Regions from separate parts of the Homo sapiens genome. Here all the other regions are linked to region 5. Evidence: promoter capture Hi-C in 16 types of primary human blood cells and fetal thymus (Javierre and others, 2016). All regions are on one chromosome and are shown on one strand. The core of a region is centred on a gene start or on the middle of the fragment in contact, and the rest is flanking DNA. Distances in the headings are between cores, read along the strand shown. Region 1 holds the start of LOC124904004 (a long non-coding RNA gene). Region 2 has its middle 5.9 kb from the start of KRT19. Region 3 has its middle 9.2 kb from the start of KRT17. Region 4 holds the start of LINC00974 (long intergenic non-protein coding RNA 974). Region 5 holds the start of KRT26 (keratin 26). Region 6 has its middle 12 kb from the start of KRT32. Region 7 overlaps LOC100505782 (a long non-coding RNA gene).

Region 1 (2,814 bases), core at 292-2,791, 880 kb before region 5:
CCCAGGTGCTGCCTGCCACCAGGACCCCCGCATTACAGAGGCCTCTCTTGCAACAAGAAAGCTTGGAACTCATAGAGGTGTCCAGAACCTCCACATTCCAAATGATGGTATCATTCTTGGGGCAGGAGGGAAAGGAGGCAGAGCCTGTTCCCCACTCTCACTTTCCCAGATGCCACAGGGACCCAGACTCCCTGTGTCTCTCATATCCCGAGACGCAGACCCTGTCAGGGAAGGGGCATGTGGCAGCGGGGCAGGCATGCCTGTGCCAGGCTGGGGCCACCAAGCACTGGTGGCAGCATAGACCTTGGGGTCTCTCTGTGCACAGCAGGGCCACCAGCAGGGCCAGGGCAAAGGTCTTCATGGTGTGGGAACTGCTCATTCTCGCTCTCTCTGGCCGGGCTGCAAGGCAAGTGGTCCCTTCCCCTGCCCCGCCATCTTTTGGCCTCACCTTCCTCCCTCCCCATGGAAGGCCCACACTCCTGTGTTCCTTGTGGCACTGCCTGGTCACAATCTCAAGTCCTCTTCCTTTCTTCCCTACCTGCACCCCCCACCCCCTAATTCAAGCCTCGGCGTCTCCACCCTCCCCAAGCCATCCCTGCCCCATCAACGAGGGCCAGCTCTATGCCCCTGATGACCTGCCAGCCTCCTGAGCCAGGCTGTGCACTCTCTGACTGCCAGGCCAGCCTCTGTCCTGCTTCCCCTACTTCCTGCTCAGAGCCGGTCATGCTGAGGCTGCGATGGAGACCTGGGAGCAGGAGGCAGCAGGGGATTCCTTGGGCTGTGGCTCTCATCATTGCTGAGAGAGGGAGAAAGGGCCCGGCCATTCCTGACCACAGCCCTGGGCTCCTGCACTCAGCCGGGCACTCACTGCATGCCAGCCTCAGACAGGGCAGTAGGGCCGCCTGGATGTGTACTGAGCCCTTCCAGCCAGGGCTTCAAGGCCGGGTCACAACTCCCGGCTCAGTGCCCAACTCCTCAACCCCTCAGCATCCACCTGCCCAGCTCATGACAGGGAGGACAAAACAAAGGAGGCCCCTGTGGGACTACACAGGCCAGCTCCTGACACTATATAGGTGGGGAAACTGGGGCCCAGAGAGGGGCGGTGACTTGTCCAAATTCATGGGCCCAGAGCTGGGCTCCTAGGCCTCTCTCCCGGGCGGCCTGAGTTAGGCCGTGGTGCCGTCAGTCCCGGAAGGTTGGGACACCCACGGCAGTACCTGACTTGCCGGGGCCCAGCCTCCAGCCCACAGCCCTGCTTTGAGCAGCAAGGGAGGCTGCCCCGCCCCCAGCGTCTCCTCCTGCCTGACTGAGTTTCCCAGAGCCAGCAGAAAGGCAGGGCCGATGCAGGTCTGAATCCGCCCAGGGATCTGGCAGTCCCAGCTGGCTTGCCCTGCCCTCGAGCCCTGGGAGCGGGAAGTGAGCCTCCCCACCTCAAATCCTCCACCTTCCCTGCCACCCACACCTTCAGCCCGGGGCCCAAACATGGCAGGGAGCCAGGCCCCTCACCTCCCTCCTTGGTAACCGAGGCAAACACCCAACACTGGAGACTGTTTGTCCTGCCAACGCTGCACCCCAACCTGAGCCCAGACGCCCTGCCGCAGTTGGGAGAAGCCTGGCTGGGGGAGGGGACGTGGCAGGGGCAGCCAGAACCTGTGGGCTTGGGGACCCTTCCCCTCCACTCCAGTTCCCCAGGAGCTTCTGAGTGAGCACAGGGCAGCGGGGCTGTTGTCTCAGCACCTTTGACTGTGAGGCCCCCAACCTCAGCCTCTGCTCCACCCCTAAGACTGTGCGCCCGGAAGGTGGAGAAGGGCTGGCTGGGGTGAGAGGGTCTGTGCTTGAACTACAGCAGAGAAAGAGAGCAGAGGGAGAAAGTTCTCTCTGGCCAGCCCAGCTGTGGGAGGGCTCAGGGAGGGAGGCCAGTGGGCCCTTTCTTTGCAGGCAGGGAGGGATGGGAGATTCTACCAGCGCCAGACCTGGGGGGCTCTGCCTCCTGATCCCCAGGGTCTGGGTGGGCACCGTGAGGCACTCCAGCGTCGCGTTTGGGGGCTGGCTGGGTGGGCAAGGAGGTGGATGTCAGGGCCTGGGGAGGCTGGGGTAAGGTGGCGCCAGGAGGGGACGGGCAGTTTTTCTGGCCTTCACTGGCCTGTGGTTTCCGCAGTGCAGGGCATGGGACTGTGGGGCGATGGAGCAAGGAGGATGGAGTTTCTGTCCCTGGGAAGCCTCTTGTCTGAGGGGAGACATGCCCCGAGCCTTCAGGGACCGCCTAGTCGGAGGGGGAGACACAGCCCTTGTCCTGGGGAGTTTGGAATAACCGTATTGGGGCCAGGGACAGAGGATGATGGAGTCACCCTGCTCTGCATGGAGCACGGGACCACCCGGCCTCACGGGGCTGGGCAGACGCTTCTGTTTCTTCTGCATGGAGCACGGGATCACCTGGCCTCATGGGGTTAGGCAGACGCTTCTGTTTCTTAGGAAGAGGTCTGTTTGCTTCTCAAATGCTTCCCGGGAACCTCCTCCACCACTGCAGCCCTGCACTGTGGGCAGGAATGTCACTAGCCCCCTTTTACGGATGAGGAAACTGAGGCTCAGGCATCTGGGAAAATGTGCTGTGGGCAGCCCCCCCGGACAGAGCTGTGCTGGCACCCTCCAGACAGTGCAGGAGAAGGGCAGGTCCCACAGAGTCCCTGCTGTTCCCCCAAGTCCTGAGGCCAGGGGGTGCTGTCTCTACTCTCAGTCCCCTGCCAGGACCTGTCCCCTGGTTCAATCCCAGGCAGGCCAGCGGGGAGGGTGGGGTGGGAGACTTGGTTCTGCTGA
Region 2 (3,147 bases), core at 547-3,046, 760 kb before region 5:
AACAGCAGGTCTTGTCTCTGTCCTTTACTCTCTAGCCCACCACTATGGCTAGATTCAGACCCTCTCATCTCTAGCATGGACTATTTTAAAACACCCTAAACTGGGTTCTTTATCCCTGGTCATCCCTGCTTCCCTTGACACATCAACCCATTTGCCACACAAAACCCACATCCCATCCCTGATGAAAATGACTTTCCATTGTCTTGCTTACAGCTCCCCCACAGCTGACCTTGTCCTCAACGACCCCCTTCCCTCCCCTCCTGCCATGGCCCAACCATATTGAATTGCCAGTAGTCTCCCAAGCTGGGCCCGGTTACTCATCTCTTCCAGGCCCCCATTCTCTTTACTCTTCTGCCTGAGAAATACCTACTGGTCTGTCAGCTTCTTGCTCAAGGGTCATGCCTCTGTAATTAAATAGCTCTCAATGCCCCCAGGCAGACATAATTCCCAGTGTCTACATACTTGATCACATTGATTGGTTTGAGGCATACCTCAATACTGGGTCAATAGCTCTAGCCTGATGGCCCACATGGTGGCTCCCACTCCAGCACCCCCTAAAGATCTTCCAGTTATTTCAGAAAGTCCCCAGGGGAATGCCTCGCATGTGCCCACAAGGTGGCTGCTGTCTTGCATAGAATACCCTCTGCTCTGCCACCAGCTGTAGCCCCACAGATCCACGCCACCACCTGGGAGAGCCTTGTTGTCTGTTGTGAGAACACCCAGGGGGGCCAACTTCAGATGCTTCCAGACGATGGATCCTTGGAGAACCAGAGTGGGAGGGCTTTCCTCAGGTGTAAGTCATCGGCTGCAAGGAGCTCTCCCTGTACTCAGACTCTTCCAAAGTTCTTCTTGTCCGTTTTGCCTTCTTGTTTCATAAAGAAGTAAAACTAGCCTGGCGGACCCAGGGGTGGGGGCACGAGGATGGAAACCCTTTCCAGGGTCTCTTTTCTCCTCACATCTAGTTCTCCCTCTTCCAAAACTTCCTCTCTCATTTCTCAATTCAAGGCTAGGGTTGGTGTGGATGAGCAGAGACAATGATGTCAGTGGTGAGTGCAGGGAGGGGAAGAGGGTATTGACTATATGAAATTTGGCTAGTTCTAAATGTCTGTGGTTTAGTGTTACTTAAGAAATTATTTACTTTAATTAACAAGAAATACTAAATACATTCTTATAAAACTTAAAACCATAGAGATTAAGCTTAGGTTCCTATTGGCTACCATCCTTCAATCAGATTCCTTCCTTACCTATGCATATATTCATACATATTCATATGGACCTTAGCAATAAGTCATCTTTTGAATGTATGTTGACATGAATTTATCATATTAAGTGTGTTGCTCTCCAACTAGATTTACTGTACCCAACAACTAGTTTTTTTTTTTTTTTCTTTTGAGATGGAGTTTCACTCTTGTCACCCAGGCTGGAGTGTAATGGCTCGATCTCAGCTCACTGCAAGCTCTGCCTCCCGGGTTCAAGCAATTCTCCTGCCTTAGCCTCCCGAGTAGCTGAGATTACAGGCACCCGCCGCCACGACTGGCTAATTTTTGTACTTTTAGTGGAGACGGGGTTTCACCATGTTGGCCAGGGTGGTCTCGAACTCCTGACCTCAGGTGATCCACCCACCTTGGCCTCCCAAAGTGCTGGGATTACAGGCGTGAGCCACCATGTCCGGCCCAATAACTAGTTCTTTAGGGTTTTCAGTGTCACTATTCATTGTCATTACTCATTCCATTTAATTTCTAGTCCTCCACAGCAGGATGTTACATAGTTACTGAACGCCTCCCCGCCATTAGTGATTGTTTGTGTCTTTGCACTGTAGCAAACAATGCTGCATAGGGCATCCTTTTATATGACTTCCTCAATACACGGGCCAGGGTTTCTTTCGGATGAACACGAAGAGTGGAACTGATGGCTCAAGAAGTGCATGAATGTTAAAAAAAATGATGACATTGTCAAATCGCTCTGCAAAGTGGTTACTACAACCCACCTCCCACCAATGTGTTTGAGGAGGTTCATTTACTCATGGCTTCTCTACACTTGACATCATCAAACGTTGTGAGCAGGCCAGTCTAATCAGGAAAAGTAAATCTCCTGTCTTCTCCTGAATTGGGGAGAGGTGGTCCCCTGGCTGCCTTAGTTGGGTAGGGGTCTGGGAGGGGGCCTGGTACTGTTGACAGAAACTTCCAGCCAGCCCTGCTTACGGTCCCTCTTCCACTTTTCCTCTCCATGTCTGTGGTGCCCCAATTCTTGAGCTTCTTTAGAGTATGTTGAGAATGTGCTTGCCTCTCACGGGCTTCCTGCTCTCTCCTCTGTTGACCCCTTCCTAATCCCCCAAACCCTGGGTCTCAGCTTTCTCTCATCTTCTGTGTTACCATTTTTGAGCTTTAAAGCTTTTGTTGACATTTCTCATCTTTGACCCTCCCTCCTTCCTTTCCTCCTTCCCTCCTTCTTTCCCTCCCCTCCTCCTTCCCTCCCTTCCTCCCTCCCTCCCTCCCTCCCTCCCTCCCTTCCTTCCTTCCTTCCTTCCTTTCTTCCTCCCTTCCAGCTGGGTCTTACTCTGTCACCCAGGCTGGAGTGCAGTGACGCAATCTTGGCTCACTACAGCCTCCACCTCCCAAGCTCAGGTGATCCTCTCACCCCAGCGTCCTGTGTAGCTGGTACTACAGGTGCACACAACCATGCCCAGCTAATTGTTTGCATTTTTGGTAGAGACAGGAGTTCGCCATGTTCCCTAGGCCAGTCTCAAACTCTTGAGCTCAAGCAGTCTGCCCGCCTCGGCCTTCCAAAGCGCTGGGATTACAGGCGTGTGCCACTGTGCCTCACCTCTTCTTCCATTCTCTTAAAATACTCCTTAACTGTCATATCATAGCAGGGTTTTAGGAAGGAGTCAAAATTGATGTAGCTATTGAACCTACCACATTTCACCAAAGCTAATACACTTCTATACACCCCCCTACCAGATTGTCAGCCTCTTAGAGGCAGGAAATATTTGTATTTACTTCTGTGCCCCAGCCCCTGGCAGCATGCGTAGCACAGAAGCTGCGCTTGATGCATGTTCACTGAATGAATGGAGGAGCGGGTGAGGAAGTTCCTTGTGCTGGTGGTCCCTGGGGAAGCGGAGGCCGTTCAGGTAAGGAGCTACTAATT
Region 3 (2,886 bases), core at 14-2,513, 860 kb before region 5:
CCTCTGCTTCCTGTTTTGTTAGAGCCTTACTGACGTCATTATCTCTCCAGATTCCCTCAAAGACTTTGGGAGACAAGACTTGGTCCCCCTTTTACAAACGAGGGAACGGAGGCTCTAGAACTGACTTCCTGAAAGGCTTGGATCCAAAGCTCCCTCAGTTCAGCGGCCACGTCTATTTCCCTCAGACACAGGGATCCTTGAACCTGTGGGCTGTATCTCCCCGCGGACTTGGAAGAATCCCAAGAGAGTGGGGCTCCCACAGGTCAGAGGCTAATTCTGCCTCCTCTGACTGGGAGTCTCCACCAGGGCCACGTTGTACCTGGGCAATGATGTCAGGCCCCGATCTCTCCACCCTTACCCCAGGGCCCTGGAATGCTGGGTGAGGGGCCAGGCCAGCCTCCGGCTCCTGGCCTGTGCAGCCTTGTCCTGTGCCCGTGCTGGCTCCCAGGGCTGGGTTCTCCGGGCTCCCCACAAGAATAAGCTCAGCCTCCTAACTGTGGCTGAGGATGGAGGGTCACCCTACCCCAGGGCTACAGACCAGCACCACCTTTGTTTCTTTCTTTCTTTTTTGAGACAGATTTTTACTCTTGTTGCCCAGGCTGGAGTGCAATGGTGTGATCTCGGCTCACTGCAACCTCCACCTCCCAGGTTCAAGCTATTCTCCTGCCTCAGCCTCCTGAGTAGCTGGGATTACAGGTTCGTGACACCACGCCCAGCTAATTTTTGTATTTTTAGTAGAGATGGGGTTTTGCTATGTTGGCCAGTCTGGTCTCAAACTCCTGACCTCAGGTGGTTCACCTGCCTCTGCCTCTCAAAGTGCTGGGATTACAGGCGTGAGCCACCGTGCCTGGCCACCACCTTTGTGTCTGAACAGACCGCTGAGGCCCTGGTGCTCAGGCTGGGCTCTTGCTATGGAGGGGTCCTTGGGGAGGCTCTCAATATGTCCAGCCTGAGCCCCAGGCCCTGGGTGGGTGGGAGGAGGCAAAATACACTCCTGGGGTTTTGGCCTGAACTTCAAGGGCCAGGGTCCCAGCCCCACTTCAGCCCGGCTGTAACGGGCTACCCAGGGTCTCCATCCAGACCAGACTCTTCACCCGACCCATGGACACCCTGGTTGTCACCACTACCAGCATCTGCCAGTTCTCCACCTCTGGCTCTGTCAAGGGCCTGTGGACACCTGGCGGGGGTTTCTCCTGGATGTCATCTGTCAGTGTTGGGGGTGCCTTTCGCCAGCCTCCTGGGAGTCAGCAGCTGTGGCAACATGTCGGTCACCTCCTCCTGCTTCTTGGTGGGACTTGGGGGAGGCTACAGCGGTGGCTACACCTGTAACCTGGGTGGGGGCTTTGGCTCCAGCGTTGACGTGGCGGATGCCCTGCTGCGGGGGCGGTGAAAAGACCATGCAGAACCTTACTGACCACACACACAGCACACACATACACACAAACACCACACACAACCACACACACACATACACACACACAAACACCACACACACCACACACACCATCACACACATACACACAAACACCACACACACACCACACACGTACACACACAAACACCACACACACCCCACACACATCACACACATACACACACAGAAACACCACACACACACCACACACAGCACACACGTACACACACACAAACACCACACACCATACACATCACACACTACCCCAAACGCCACGCGCCCCACTCACACCTCACACTCCCAGATTCACACACAGGCGCATGCCCACCGATCGATACACACACACTAAAAGACTCCTATATACACATTCACACATAGCTCACAGGCACATCCACATACACACATACTACATACACACACACATACCACACACCTACACATATACCCACCACACCCCCAACACCCCCTCCACACATATTAGTCACACACCCCCCCAAACCCCCCACACCCTCTCCAACACATATACACACCCACCCAAACATACCACACACCACACACACACTCATACACATCACACACTACACAAACATCACACACATACACACCACACACACCACACATACACGCGCACGTACACGCACACACACCACACACACACCACACACATCAGAGACACACAGCACACACACATCACACACATATACACACACAAACACCACACAGACCATACACATACACACATACACGCCACACACACATCACGCACACACCACATATACATCACAGACACACGCAAACACCACACACACACTCCAAACACATCACACACATACACAAACACCACACACACCACACACATACTCACCATACACACCATAGATACATCACACACACACTCACCACACACACCACACACACATACACATACACACAGACACCACACACACACCCCACACCACACATGCCACACATATTCCACACGCACCACACACATACACACTACACACACACCATACACATATATACCCACAACCACCCATGTACCACACACCACACACACCACACGCATATACACACCACACACACAATACACACAGATCTCACACACACATACACACCACACACACATATACACCACACCACATGCATACCACACACCACACACACCACATACACACATACTACATACACATAAACACCACACACATCACACACCACACACCACACACACATCACACACCACACACACACACACATACACACACACTCTCTCTCATGACCTCTAAGAACATGGCTTTGGCATTCTGTAAACATGGCCACTTTGTCTTCTGCACAAACCCTGCCCTGGAGGGTCCTACAGAGCAAAGCCACCAGTGGCAGGTGAGGAGTGCAAGTGATGAGTATGGTGGCCAGGGGGGCCAGGGGAGCCAGGGGAGGCAGGCGGGAGTCAGGTTAGGCCCAGCTGGCCCTGG
Region 4 (3,144 bases), core at 273-2,772, 780 kb before region 5:
ATTCCCAGCACTTTGAGAGGCTGAGGTAGGAGGATCACTTGAAGCCAGAAATTTGAGATCAGCCTGGGCAACAGAGCAAGACCCCGCATCTACCAAAAAAAGAAAAAAATATTGGACAGGCATGGTGGCATGCACCTGTTGTCCTAATTACTGGGTTACTTGGGAGGCTGAGGTGGGAGGATCACTTGAGCCCAGAAGTTTGAGGCTGCTGTGAACCATGATCATACCACTGTACTCCAGCCAGGGCAACAGAATGAGACTGTCTCTAAATTAAAAAAAAAAAAAGAAAAAGAAAAGAAAAAAAAAGGAAAGAAAAAAGGCTTACGTGGGAAGCAATGACTGTATGAAGAGCTGAGAATAAGACGAGTGACCTGGCACAGGTAGATTCTTTCCTGGGATCTCAGATTCCCCCTAGAAGGCCCTGGGTCTGTGCTTGTCAAAGGAAGGAATGGGTGAATGAGCAAACGGTGCAGGGAGGAGGATGACAGAGGAGGGTCTCTATTATTATTCATATCATTCTAACAGTCCGCAAATATCTACCCAAATCTCTAGAGCTTTGATCTCGAGTCCCCGCCCCTTGGAGTGTCCTGCTTGGTTGTGGAGGCTGCTGCTGCTGCTGCAGCCTCTTGGCTTCAGGCTCTGAAGCACTCCCCATCTCAGGCCCAAACAGGAATAAAATCAGTTCCTTTCTCTGTTCCTCTTACTAGACTGAGATCCACTGGGATTGTCTGAGGGAATTCTTGTGAAACCAGAAAGAAAGTTCAAGAAATGATGCAACAACAACAAAATAAAACCCAGGAGAAATAGTACGACAAGAAGTTAAAAGATCGTGAGGAGAGGTAAGGCCTGGTGGGTCCTCACCTGCCTGTTTTTGAAAATCTCGTATTGGAGTTCCTGTCTATTTTCATCCCCTCTTCAAGTCATTCATTCATTCATTCATTCATTCATTCATTCAACAGATCTTCACTGGGTGCCTATTCTGTGGCAGGGATTGGGAATAGATGGAATTGTGAGCAGAACAGACAAGGTCTCTGCCCCCATGGGCTCACAGTCTGGTGCCAGAGGCAGACAGGCAGACAGGCCAGTGCTGAGTGAGTGCCATCGGTGATGAGAGGGATGGGCTGTACTTTCAGATGGGGTCTCCTGAGCTGGCCATGGTGGCTAGGGAAGCTTCCTAGGATAGGCATGGGCCAGGAAGCTTCCATATGTCATTTTGTTGATTTCTCACAACTGTGTGAGGTTGCTCTTGTTGCTTCCATTTACAGATGAGGAAACTGAGGCTCAGAGAAGAAAAGTTCCTTGCCCAAGTCACCCACACCAGTGTTGATCTGGCTCCCTACCTCCTGCTCTTAGCACGACCTATCTGGCCTCTAACAATTTTTAACACTTTTTAAGATTGCGCTGTGGCCTCAATTTTCTCCAAGAGTTACCTTGATCTCTCCCCAGGAAGATCAAAGCTGTCGGAGAACACATGAGTATCAGAAGCAGAGTGTGGGTGCAGAGGGGTCCTGGGTGAATAACCCTGCAAGGACAGACAGTCCCTAAGGACGGCTCTGCACCCACATGCTGGGTGTGACACTCATGTGTCCTCCGATGGCTTTGATATTCCTGAGCTTTCTTCCCACCCGGGAATCCCTCAGTCTGTCTTTGCTGCTACCAGCACCCTCAGCCTCAGAGACATGCCATCCTCACCCGAACTCAGGCCAAACTCTCAAACATGATTCCTTTCATCTCTTGCCCTCACCATGACTCAGTCATGTTGGGGTTGTCAGAAGGAGCATTTGTCAAGATGGAGGGAAACCTCAGGGAAGTGAATCAACACCAAACCCATAAGAGTCAAGCTTGAGATTCAAAGGTGGGGTGTGTGTGGGGAGGAAGGTTAGCTTCCCCAAGTTCTCTGCTCATTGGGAGCCCCAAGTGGAGACTCTGCCTGTCATTGACCCCTTCATTCAATGGGTAATCACTGAGGGCCTACTCTGTGCCAGGCATGGGGCTAGTAGCTGGGGCTACTACAGTGACCCAGGCAGAGTCTGCCCCCATAGAGTCTTGTCGGAGAGACCAACAGGTAACAGCCACCTCCATACAGTATGCTGCATTCCATTAGGGGGAAGCCCAGGGACTCTGGGCCACACAGCAGAAACAACTAACACAGTCTTGGGAGGCAGGGAACATTCTTTGGAGAAAGTGTTGGGTCAACACACCAGGAAGATGTTGGATTTGATATTTGATATTTGGTGGAGGTGATATTTGGTGGAGGTGATATTCAATGGAGGTGGTGTGCATGTGTGTTTGTGTGTGTGTGTGTGTGTGTTTGTGTGTGTTGGGGGTGGGCAGTTCTGGGTAGGGGGAACTGCATCAGTGAAGGCCTGGAGGTGTGACTGAAAGTGGCCCACTGGAGGAGCTGGAACTTGAACTTCCTGGGGCTACTGTGCAGAGGGTGAGGAGGGGCTGAAGAGGGATGACGAGGTGCTGGTGGGAGTAGGCGGTCAGTCGTGGAGGACTTGCTCATGGTGGGGAGACTGAACTGTACCCCGAGAGCCACAGAGAAGCACATGTCCCTTTTGTTTTCACCTTTTTCTAGCCCTGCAGTGGAGGAGGAGAACCTGTTGGCCAGGAACTGCCAACAGCTTTTGTTCTGGATAAGCCCCTCGTGGAGGAGGACAAGGCAAGAAGATGGGTCTTCATCCTAACCCACGGAAGCAGCGCTGGACTGAGAAGCACCACCTGCGAAACTCCCAGCCCCACTGAGTAACCTCCAGGGCAGGGGCATGTCCCTGCTTACGAGCTCCCACCAGCCCGTCACACCCCCCCACCCACCTCAGAGGCTCCTGCCCCTGACCTGAGTGAGCTGTGTCTGAGTTGGGTCCCTCCTCCCTCCAAGGAGTGTGCTCTATGGACAACAGCCTCTATCCTCATTTGTCCCTTCCTCCTAGCGCCTCCTTCTGCACCCCTGACCCCGCTCCATGCTGTCACCTCCTCTGTATGGCAGCTGGGCCTCGTCTGTCCTGGGACGGTGGCAAGCATGTACAGAAGTCATCTTCCTTATTTCTCACTACCCCCAGCTTCCCAGATGGGAAACTGAGGCTCAGAGAAATGACATAACTCAGCTGACAAAGGATCTGAGTGGGTCTGACCCGCAAGCCC
Region 5 (2,792 bases), core at 190-2,689:
CAGTTATAGCTCTGTATTTATTATTTATTTTTAAATATTTTTGATTTAGAAAATCCATGCAGTCCACTAAATGTTCCATACGATTTAGTGACAATAATGTTGGATGTTTTCCAAAGGATTCACTATCCACAACATTGAAAAATATCATTCGGAAGAAAATTACTGTTTCAAAACTAAACCCATAATTAGTTAACCAATCAATTTGTATCATTATAGGTGATAGAGACCCGACCCTGTCTGACATGTCCACTTTATTATAATAATTTAAATAATTAACATTTAAAAATGTTTGTGCCTTTCAAACTGTCTTATCGTCATTCATGATTGGAACTGCTCAACATTCATTTGAGACTCTTTGATGCTATTATTTTCATTTGCCCAGTAGGGAAATGATCCAAGCCTGGATAACTTCCCAAGAGCATCAAGGCAAGAGAATAAAGAGTACTTCCCTGTGACAACTTATCTTCTCTCTAGGGTACTATAAGTACTGGTTTTCTAGGTAATGATGAAAACACCTCCCTCCTTATATATTTTACTCCTTGCTAATCAATATGATGCTCACTTCTCAAAATAATTCCTAATGTCTTAAATACATACATTTAAACTAAAAGACAGTAAACACTATTTAGGGGTAGGGAAGTGAACAATTTGGAGACTGTTAGTTGAATTGATGTCCTGCTCCTGGACCAAACCAAGAAATCTCAATCGAATTAATTCTCCACCATCATCACATATTCATGAATTATATTGAAATTAACAATAAGCAGGACTGCAGGATTTCTATTACTTCAGTTTTCAATTCAAGAAATGGTAGATTTCTTTTAAAATCTCCCACTACCAAAAGATCAATAGATGCTGAGATTTTCTGGTTTTGATAAGAAGGAAAACACACACCCAGACACCCAGGGCAGTGGCTCACACCTGTAATGCTGGCCACAGGAGGCTGAGCTGGGTGCTGAGGCTGAGGATCACTGGAGGCCAGGAGTTCGAGACCAGCCTGGGAAACATAGCGAGACCACATATCTTTAAAAAAAGGAAAAAAGAAAAAGAAACGAAAGGAAGAAAGGAAGCACTCAATGAAGTGGGAATACTAGAAATACTCTATGAGCGTTAACAGGACAAAAGTAGGAGACATTTCTCATTGGAATTATTAATTCTTTGTTATATGTGGCAGGGGGAGAATCTAGATTCTATTAATATTCCAGTGGCCAAAAAGATGCACATTTAGTCATATTTAATTTTGGCCTTTGAGGCTATGATTTAGTTTTACTTCACCTGGCACCATTTTTATATATAAAAAATATCCTTGGGGCACCTTTCCACCTACAGACTGGACGCTGTTAAAAATTACCCAATTGTGAAAAACAACAATTAGGATGCAAGTAAATTTTATTACAGACTGGCATAGTCAAGACTGAAATGACCCAGTGAATACTATAAAAGGCCAAGGGAGCTAACAAGTGTGGAAGGTGAACCCTGGCTTTGCTCCTCTTTCTGGGAAGGGGTTGCCCGGCTGTGCTGCCACCATGTCTTTTCGACTTTCTGGTGGATCCAGGAGGATCTGCTCGCGAACTGGGTCTGGTAGGCTGTCCGGTGGAGGAACAGGCTTCGTGGCTGGGAATGTGTGTGTTGGATCGGGAGCAAGAAGCAGCTTTTCTTGTACTCTTGAGGGCATCTCTTCTGGAGGAAGCTTCTGCAATAGCGGTGGAGGGTTGGGAAGTGGTGCCTGTGCTGGTTTTCTTGGCAATGAGCACAGCCTCCTCTCTGGGAATGAAAAGGTGACCATGCAGAATCTCAACGACCGCCTGGCATCCTACCTGGACCATGTGCATGCTCTAGAGGAGGCCAACGCAGACCTGGAGCAGAAGATCAAGGGCTGGTACGAGAAATGTGAGCCTGGCTCTTCCCGGGAACACGATCATGACTATAGCAGATACTTCTCAGTCATAGAAGATCTTAAAAGGCAGGTAAGAAATAGGGATTTGCATACTTTTACTACAGACTTTGTGTGTTGATAATTTAAAGAAGAGAAAATATAAAATGTGCCTAACAAATTTATGTGATGTAAGATTTGTTCACTCTGTATTTCCAGTGCTAAGCACAGTACCTGGCAATAAAATCTTGTAGAATTAAATAATGAAAAAGAAATCATTTCAAAACAGATATAGTCACTTCGTTTTTCATATATTTAGCTCATACCATTTGATCAAAAGTAGTAAAAGTATCTATGTGGCTCTTAAGCTCTGGATGCTTATTATCTGAAGAAAATCCAGATTTCTTTAACATAGAAAAAAGATACTAAAACAGATGTTTGACAGATTAAGAAGATATAAAATCACACTGAAGTCTGGAGCCTCCTTTGACTTTTGGTAATTAACATTTTTCACAATCTTCCCTATTTAGATTATTTCTGCGACCATCTGCAATGCCAGCATTGTTCTACAAAATGACAATGCCAGACTGACCGCTGATGACTTCAGGCTGAAGTAGGTGAAAACAAACTGATTAATTATATTAATAAAAGTTAAAATATTACAATTGGATTAAGGAATATATATTTTGCTTTGAAAACCAAAATGTTTTTCTAAAGCCAGACTAGATCAATAAAGAAATTGAATTAAATAAGCCGTTATAAAAAGAGCTATCATGGTTGGATAGAGTAGCTCATGCCTGTAATCCCAGCACCTTGGGAGGCTGAGGCAGGCAGATCACTTGAGGTCAGGAGTTTGAGACCAGCCTGGCCAATGTGGCAAGACCCCGTCTCTACTAAAAGTACACACACAAAAAAATAG
Region 6 (3,066 bases), core at 531-3,030, 680 kb before region 5:
CATTCAAGGAAGACTGGCCAGAGGGCGACAGCTTCCCGAAAGATCCAGGAGTTGGGTTTGGCATCTGGGAGTTGGGGCTGTGTGTGGACTCTGAATTGCACTGACTGAATCTTTCTTCACCACTATATTAGGAAACCTTTTAGAGAGTGATCAAAAAAAGAATATGCCTCTTCCAGGGTATAACCAGGAAAATCATTAATAATAAAACAATATTCTTTTTGTATTTCATAATTTTTTTTTCTTTTGGAGAGAGAGTCTCGCCCCGTAGCCCAGGCTGGAGTGCAGTGGCATGATCTTGGCTCACTGCAACCTCTGCCTCCTGGGTTCAAGTGATTCTTGTGCCTCAGCCTCCTGAGTAGCTAGGACCACAGGCACATGCCACCATGCCTGGCTAATTTTTGTATTTTTAGTAGAAATGGGGTTTCACCATGTTGGCCAGGCTGGTCTCGAACTCTTGACCTCAGGTGATTCACCCACCTTGGCCTTCCAAACTGCTGGGATTACAGGCGTGAGCCACTGCACCCGGCCTGTATTTCATAAAATGTAACACTTGAATGCAATGATATCAATTCGGCTAAACAGAAAGTTCCTAAGATCATTTGATGTCTATCTTTTTGCCCAACTGATCAAGACAAATTTGTATTTAAATAGCAGTGTCCCTTAATCATAATATGTAAACAAAGTCACCAATGAGCATCTAGGATTAATGGAGAAGATCAGTGCCTTTGGCTTCAGAAAAACTGGGCTAGACCCCCAGTTCTGCTGCTAATGTGCTGTGTGATTTTGGCAGAACTCTTAATCTCTATGCATCTCAGTCTTCTCCCCTTTAGAAATGGGAGTAATTCTACCTTTTTCACAGAGTTGTTGGGATATAGTACATATAAAAATGCCTGTCATGATGCCTGGCATATTGTAGGTGCCTGATGAATGTTGAGTAAAGAAAACATGCTTTGGCAACAAATTTCTCTTCTCTTCTGACTTTCCCCAATTACAATGGCAGCTGAGTCATATTTTGGAGCCATTCTGAAGCCCAAGTTTCAGAAACAACAACAGCAGCAGCAGCAGCAGCAACAACAACATATGGGTAGCTTTGCTTTGCTCTAAGAGCATTGGATGAACTTCCAGTCTTGGTGTAAATGCCCTGGTAGAGTGAAGGCCCTGGTGTCTGAGGCTCAGCGTCCAGTCCTGGAGTTCACCATCCATTCCCAGGTGCCCTCCCTCTGCCCAGCCCTCTGGCTCCAGAGCGGACTGAAGGTCTCCCACATGCTTAAGGGGTCCAATTTTTAAGCCTCATTCACTGTGCTGTGTGAAGCAGGGATGGCAACTACAGCTCACAGGTCAAACCCCACTGCTACTTGTTTTGGTAAATCAAGTTTTATTGGAGCATAGCCACACCCATTCATTTCCCTGTTGTCTATGTCTGCTTTGTGCTACAATGGCAGAGCTAAGTAGTTGCAGTACAAAGAGAGTATACGACTTGCAAAGCCTAAAATATTTAGCATCTGTCTTTTTAACAGAAAAAGCTTGTCCATCTTGGTGCAGAGGAAACAGAATGTGCTAGGGGCCCTGGGACCAGTCCTGGCTCTGTATCTGACTTGCTTGGCATCCCTGGGGAGCTCACTGTCCTTCTCTGGTCTCTGAAGCACGAAAGGTTGAATTAGTACTTGGAAGTTTTCTTTAGTTCTAATAACTTAGCAGTCTTTGCTCTATTGCTCTTTAGGGATTCCTGAGGCTCTTATCAGAGAATTTTACTTTTTTGGGTATTGAAGGTCAGTGGAGAGGACGATTCATCTTAGAGCCAATGCCATTCCTAGAGAGAGGCCAGATAGTCACTCAAGGAACAAAGTCTAACTTTTCAATGGGGCATCTCTAAAGAGAAAACATTTAACATTTCTTTTCACAACAGAAGGCAGTAACAAGAAGTCCAAAGTCAGCCCTTTCTTTCATAAAGTGGGGAGCTACTTCTGAGGACTGAATAACTGCTGATGGGTTGTTCTGATGGCAGAACAAATGAGGATTCATTGGGGGAAAGCTTGTGTATCACATCTGCTCCTATGGCAGGTGAATAAAAGCTCTGGGTGAGGAAACACTCACACCTGAGCACCTGGCCCTTGTCACCAATCTGCAACTCAACTGTCTAGGACCATGGCTTCTAGTTAAAGCAGAAATCCCTGCTCCTCAAGCTTTGGCAAGAGCCATTTGAAGCCTCCTTGCTCCAGACAGGCTGTGGCCAGAAACCACTCTAGAAACTCTGTACCCAATGTCTGTAGATCCCAGTATTAAGACTGGGGCCCACCTGTAAGAGAGTCACCAACCTAGTAGCCATCTCCTTAGAACCTGTGGCTCACAGTCAGTCCAGCCTGGCCCTGCCAGCAGTCACTCTGCCTGTCCTCTGCCAGGGACCAGGAACATCCCTGCCAGTATGGGCACCTGTGGCTGGTTCAGTGAAGACATCCTCAGCAGCAGTGGGAAAGGGATCATGCAGTTCTTAAGTGAGTGCCTGGCCAACTGCTTGCAGAAGTTGCAGCAGTTGGAGCAGGAGAATGAGAAGCAGGGGTGGTGCTGAGAGCCAGCAGTGGAGCAAACGGCAGTGCCCTGACATATGCTCCAATTACTGCTCACACTTTGAGACCATTAAGGAGCTCCAACAAAAAGTAAGATGAGGCCTTGAGCTCTGGTGTCAGTGGCATGGAAAGAGAGGGCTGAGGATTGGTGATGGGAGAATTGGAGGGGTTGCCTGGGGGGATGACAGTCCATGAATGTTCATAAAGATGGATTGAAGGTGCCAGAAATAAACTGTGATGTCAAGGGCCCAACCACTTGGTTCTACAACCAGTTCCATTCAACAAGCATCATTGCTGATGTCTGCAATGAGAGGACTGTGAGTGGGATATGGATTTATTTCTTCACAATCCAGATCCTGCCTTATTTAAGGACATGCCACCATTCACTCACTAGTTATTGAGCACCAGCAATGAGTGATTGCATCGCTGGGTGCTGGGGAGCAGACAGTGCCTACAAAATGAAGCCTCAGCTCTTTAGCCTGGCATTCAAGGCTGCCATGTT
Region 7 (3,010 bases), core at 474-2,973, 630 kb before region 5:
CGTCCCATGCTGAGAGCCTTGCTGGGAACTCCTTGAGCCACATGCTTCTGTAGACGGGGGTTGTGGCTGGCTCGCCAGAGTGGTTCTGGGAGATGGCAAAGCCAGTGAAGGCTAGAGTTAAAAATGGGACTGCGGCAAAGTGGCACAGAGGAGAGATACCCAACCTTGGACCTCACCAAGTGTATTTGGAGACAGATTTACAGATAGAGCTTTTAAAATATAGACGCTAAGTAAAATTTCCCTTTTATCTGGATAAGCCACCTGGTCCTTGTGTAAAGGAAGAGCTCAAATCTGCGGCACCACAGACCGTTGCAAAACTCTGAAAATATTAACTGATGGTAATCGCCATCAGTCTAGAAAGGCCCAAACAACCTGACCCGTCCAAGCTCCCCAGTAAGCTCCACTGGTAAGTCCTGGCAGCTGTCTGGCTTGGAATTTGTAGACAGTAGAACATGAATCAGAAGCCCCAGAACAGGTAACTTAAATTGAGCTTTTAGGATGACATGCCCATTATGAACAAGGCACTGGCTGGGGCTTCGCCGACATTGTGTCACAGGGCACCACATCAGCCCTGCAAAGAAGAAGCAGCTGTTATTATTCTCAGTTGGTTACTGAGTCAAGACTTGAAACCTAGTCTCTTTGAACCAGATCCAAAGCCCGTTCTTTGGAAGCTTTGAGGGGGAAACAAATTAAACATGAGAAGGTTTAGGACAGTGGTTCTTAAAGCGTGGTCCGCCAGCAGGTAGCACTGGCATTACCTGAGAACTTGCTAGACATGCACATTCTTGAGCACCACCCCTGACTTACTGAACCAGCATTCTGCTTTAGCATGACTTGCAGGTGATTCTGATGTTGGTTCAAGTTTGAGAAACACTGGGTTAGGAAGTTTATTTGAGGAATGAGCCCTTGACTAGCTAGACCCTCTACAGAAAGGGCTGGCCTTGCCGTCCTGATATGTCCTCCAGTGAGGAATCCCTCATACCATCAGATCAGGATAGAGCCTTTCTCTTTTACATTGCAAAACTCTGAAAATGTTACATGATAGTTATTTCTATCAGTCTAGAAAGGCCCAAACAAGCTGACCCATCCAACCTCCCCAGTAACCCCCATTGGTGAGTCCTTATGGCAACTGTCTGTCTTGGAATTTGCAGATGGTAGAACATGAATCAAAAGCTCCATATTTTGATAGCCGTGGCTGAGAATCAGCACATCTCCAGAATTCAGCATCACAGCTGGCCAGAGAAGAGAAGCAGTGAGTTCCCTATCCTTGGAGACAAGCAGAGGCTTCAGAATCACTGATGGGGATGTTGAGGGGAACACTTAGGGAACTGATGGGGCTGGTTGAGATGGCTGTAGCCCCCCTAACTCTGTGCGTCCCTGCTTTCTATGTCTTATTGATCAGTGAAACCACAGGCATTGAAGTGGAACCACCAAATCTACTTTAGGAGCTGGTTTTGGTCTTCCCTTTCCCTCTGTGAATTCTCTGAATCACTGTAGTTTGCTGAAAAATTTACAAGTACAGCTGGTTCTGGTTTAATCCAGGTCTTCCTGATACAGCGGTGTGGTGCTGGAGTGACCACAGTCCCGAGCCCCAAGGCTGGAGGGAGCTTAAGTGAGAATCTTGTTGCTCTGCCTCCAACTGCTCTCAAGCCCAGCGTCCTACTTGTTGGTCACTGCTCATGTACATAGGACTGATCTGCTTGAGAGACACTGGGATTTCCAGCATAGGAAGCCCAAGAAGGGTCAGAGGCTGCCACGCCCTCCCCTCCTCTGTTCTTTTTCTCAAGTGGTAAAACTGTTTTGGCACACGTGACACACCCCTTGGGCACCTACCCAAGAGAAGCTCTCAATAATGAAGAGCCATCTCGATTAGTCTTAATTTAGTACCTGACCCAGCTGCCCTCATCTCCTTTGTACTTAAATAGCTCCTTTCATCCAACAAGTTCAAAGCTGTCTAACAAAATAAACCCACTTATTCTTGCACCATGACGGCACAGGCAAGCATTGTCCTTCCCATTTAAGGGAGAGAGAGAGAAGGTGAGTCATTCAGTGGTTAAGGGATTCTGCTGGTGACATAAAGTGAGTCAGTGGGGCCCCAGGGTGATTGACCTGTGTTTCTTAAGTTCACATCCAGTGCTCTCTCATTTCTAATTAAAAGATTAGCTTTGATGAGACAGTACATGTGTGTGTGTGCACGCACATCTGTGTGTTTGTCGTGTGTGAAGAGTTTCCCTGGAAACCACAGAGGTCATCATTACCATCACCATCACCAGAATCATCATCATCATCATCATCAAATCATATAGCTTCACCATCATCATCATTGTCATAGAACCATATATCCATCAAGCTCTTACTATGAGCCAGGCGCTGGTCTAAATTATAGCTACAGTCATATGGGTAAACTCATTTAATCATTACAACAATCCTAGAAAGCCAATGCTATGGTTTTCTCATTTTGCAGACAAGTAGCCAAGACTCAGAGAGGCTAAGTAACATGCCCAAGGTCACACAGCTATTAGGTGGTGAAGCCAGGATTCAGATCCAAGCAGCCTGCCTCCAGCAACTGTGCTCTTAACTACTGTGCTTTACAGAGGCCAAGTCTCAGATTTTGTCAAAAGGATGATAGAATCATAATGACCCCATTGTTTTGATTCCTTTCCTTGAAGGAAATGAGTATGTTTATGTTAGAAGAAACGTTTCTGAGAATTTATGCCACAAAGGGTGGTACAAGGAATAAAAGTCCTTTAGTATCTCACAGGATCTTGAAGCTTGAGGACTCTGGCAATTTTAATAAACTAGGAGTTGACAAAGAAGCTCAACTCACTTCCTGCCATTTTAAAACCACCTTGTCTATTGAGAAAGAGGAGGAGGGAAACAGAATCCCTATAGATGTTCATTGTTTCACCATTTACAAAACACTTGTTAAAGTACTTTGTGTTGTATCCAAATGGAGGCCCCAAACAACCTTGAGAGAGGGGAACAGACATCACAATCCCCATCGTGCAGT

What was found. Contacts are between HindIII fragments. The CHiCAGO score rates a contact against its expected background, and 5 or more counts as called.
Region 1: a contact is called between a fragment that was not itself captured here and the fragment with the promoter of KRT26 in region 5, in 7 of 17 cell types (activated CD4 T cells, M0 macrophages, naive CD4 T cells and 4 more). The highest score is 8.7, in activated CD4 T cells.
Region 2: a contact is called between a fragment that was not itself captured here and the fragment with the promoter of KRT26 in region 5, in 4 of 17 cell types (M2 macrophages, M1 macrophages, megakaryocytes and 1 more). The highest score is 7.4, in M2 macrophages.
Region 3: a contact is called between a fragment that was not itself captured here and the fragment with the promoter of KRT26 in region 5, in 7 of 17 cell types (activated CD4 T cells, naive CD8 T cells, total B cells and 4 more). The highest score is 8.5, in activated CD4 T cells.
Region 4: a fragment that was not itself captured here is called in contact with the fragment with the promoter of KRT26 in region 5 in 6 of 17 cell types (M0 macrophages, M2 macrophages, naive CD4 T cells and 3 more); the score reaches 7.8 in M0 macrophages.
Region 6: a fragment that was not itself captured here is called in contact with the fragment with the promoter of KRT26 in region 5 in 2 of 17 cell types (erythroblasts and M2 macrophages); the score reaches 5.4 in erythroblasts.
Region 7: a fragment that was not itself captured here is called in contact with the fragment with the promoter of KRT26 in region 5 in 1 of 17 cell types (M0 macrophages); the score reaches 5.5 in M0 macrophages.

Annotation. Positions count from the first base shown.
Region 1 is chr17:41,654,411-41,657,224 of GRCh38, reverse strand. LOC124904004 (a long non-coding RNA gene) reads left to right here and starts at 2,091. Exons shown (of 2, transcript XR_007065756.1): 1 at 2,091-2,814. RefSeq lists an enhancer at 2,280-2,814. The HindIII fragment of the contact is 2,956 bases long and covers 64-2,814 here.
Region 2 is chr17:41,532,610-41,535,756 of GRCh38, reverse strand. No RefSeq gene overlaps it. Among named protein-coding and RNA genes, the nearest start is that of KRT19, 5.9 kb to the right of the region's middle. The HindIII fragment of the contact is 1,193 bases long and covers 1,200-2,392 here.
Region 3 is chr17:41,632,346-41,635,231 of GRCh38, reverse strand. It overlaps the pseudogene KRT42P. Among named protein-coding and RNA genes, the nearest start is that of KRT17, 9.2 kb to the right of the region's middle. The HindIII fragment of the contact is 4,882 bases long and covers 1-2,886 here.
Region 4 is chr17:41,551,975-41,555,118 of GRCh38, reverse strand. It overlaps LINC00974 (long intergenic non-protein coding RNA 974), which reads left to right and starts at 624. Exons shown (of 3, transcript NR_038442.1): 1 at 624-839; 2 at 2,582-3,144. RefSeq lists an enhancer at 2,304-2,804. The HindIII fragment of the contact is 643 bases long and covers 1,201-1,843 here.
Region 5 is chr17:40,770,848-40,773,639 of GRCh38, reverse strand. KRT26 (keratin 26) reads left to right here and starts at 1,439. Exons shown (of 8, transcript NM_181539.5): 1 at 1,439-1,967; 2 at 2,404-2,486. The coding sequence starts at 1,527. The HindIII fragment of the contact is 2,390 bases long and covers 1-1,692 here.
Region 6 is chr17:41,453,355-41,456,420 of GRCh38, reverse strand. No RefSeq gene overlaps it. Among named protein-coding and RNA genes, the nearest start is that of KRT32, 12 kb to the left of the region's middle. The HindIII fragment of the contact is 509 bases long and covers 1,526-2,034 here.
Region 7 is chr17:41,403,165-41,406,174 of GRCh38, reverse strand. The region is part of intron 1 of LOC100505782 (a long non-coding RNA gene); the gene reads right to left. Among named protein-coding and RNA genes, the nearest start is that of KRT31, 7.1 kb to the right of the region's middle. RefSeq lists an enhancer at 1,286-2,485. The HindIII fragment of the contact is 2,100 bases long and covers 674-2,773 here.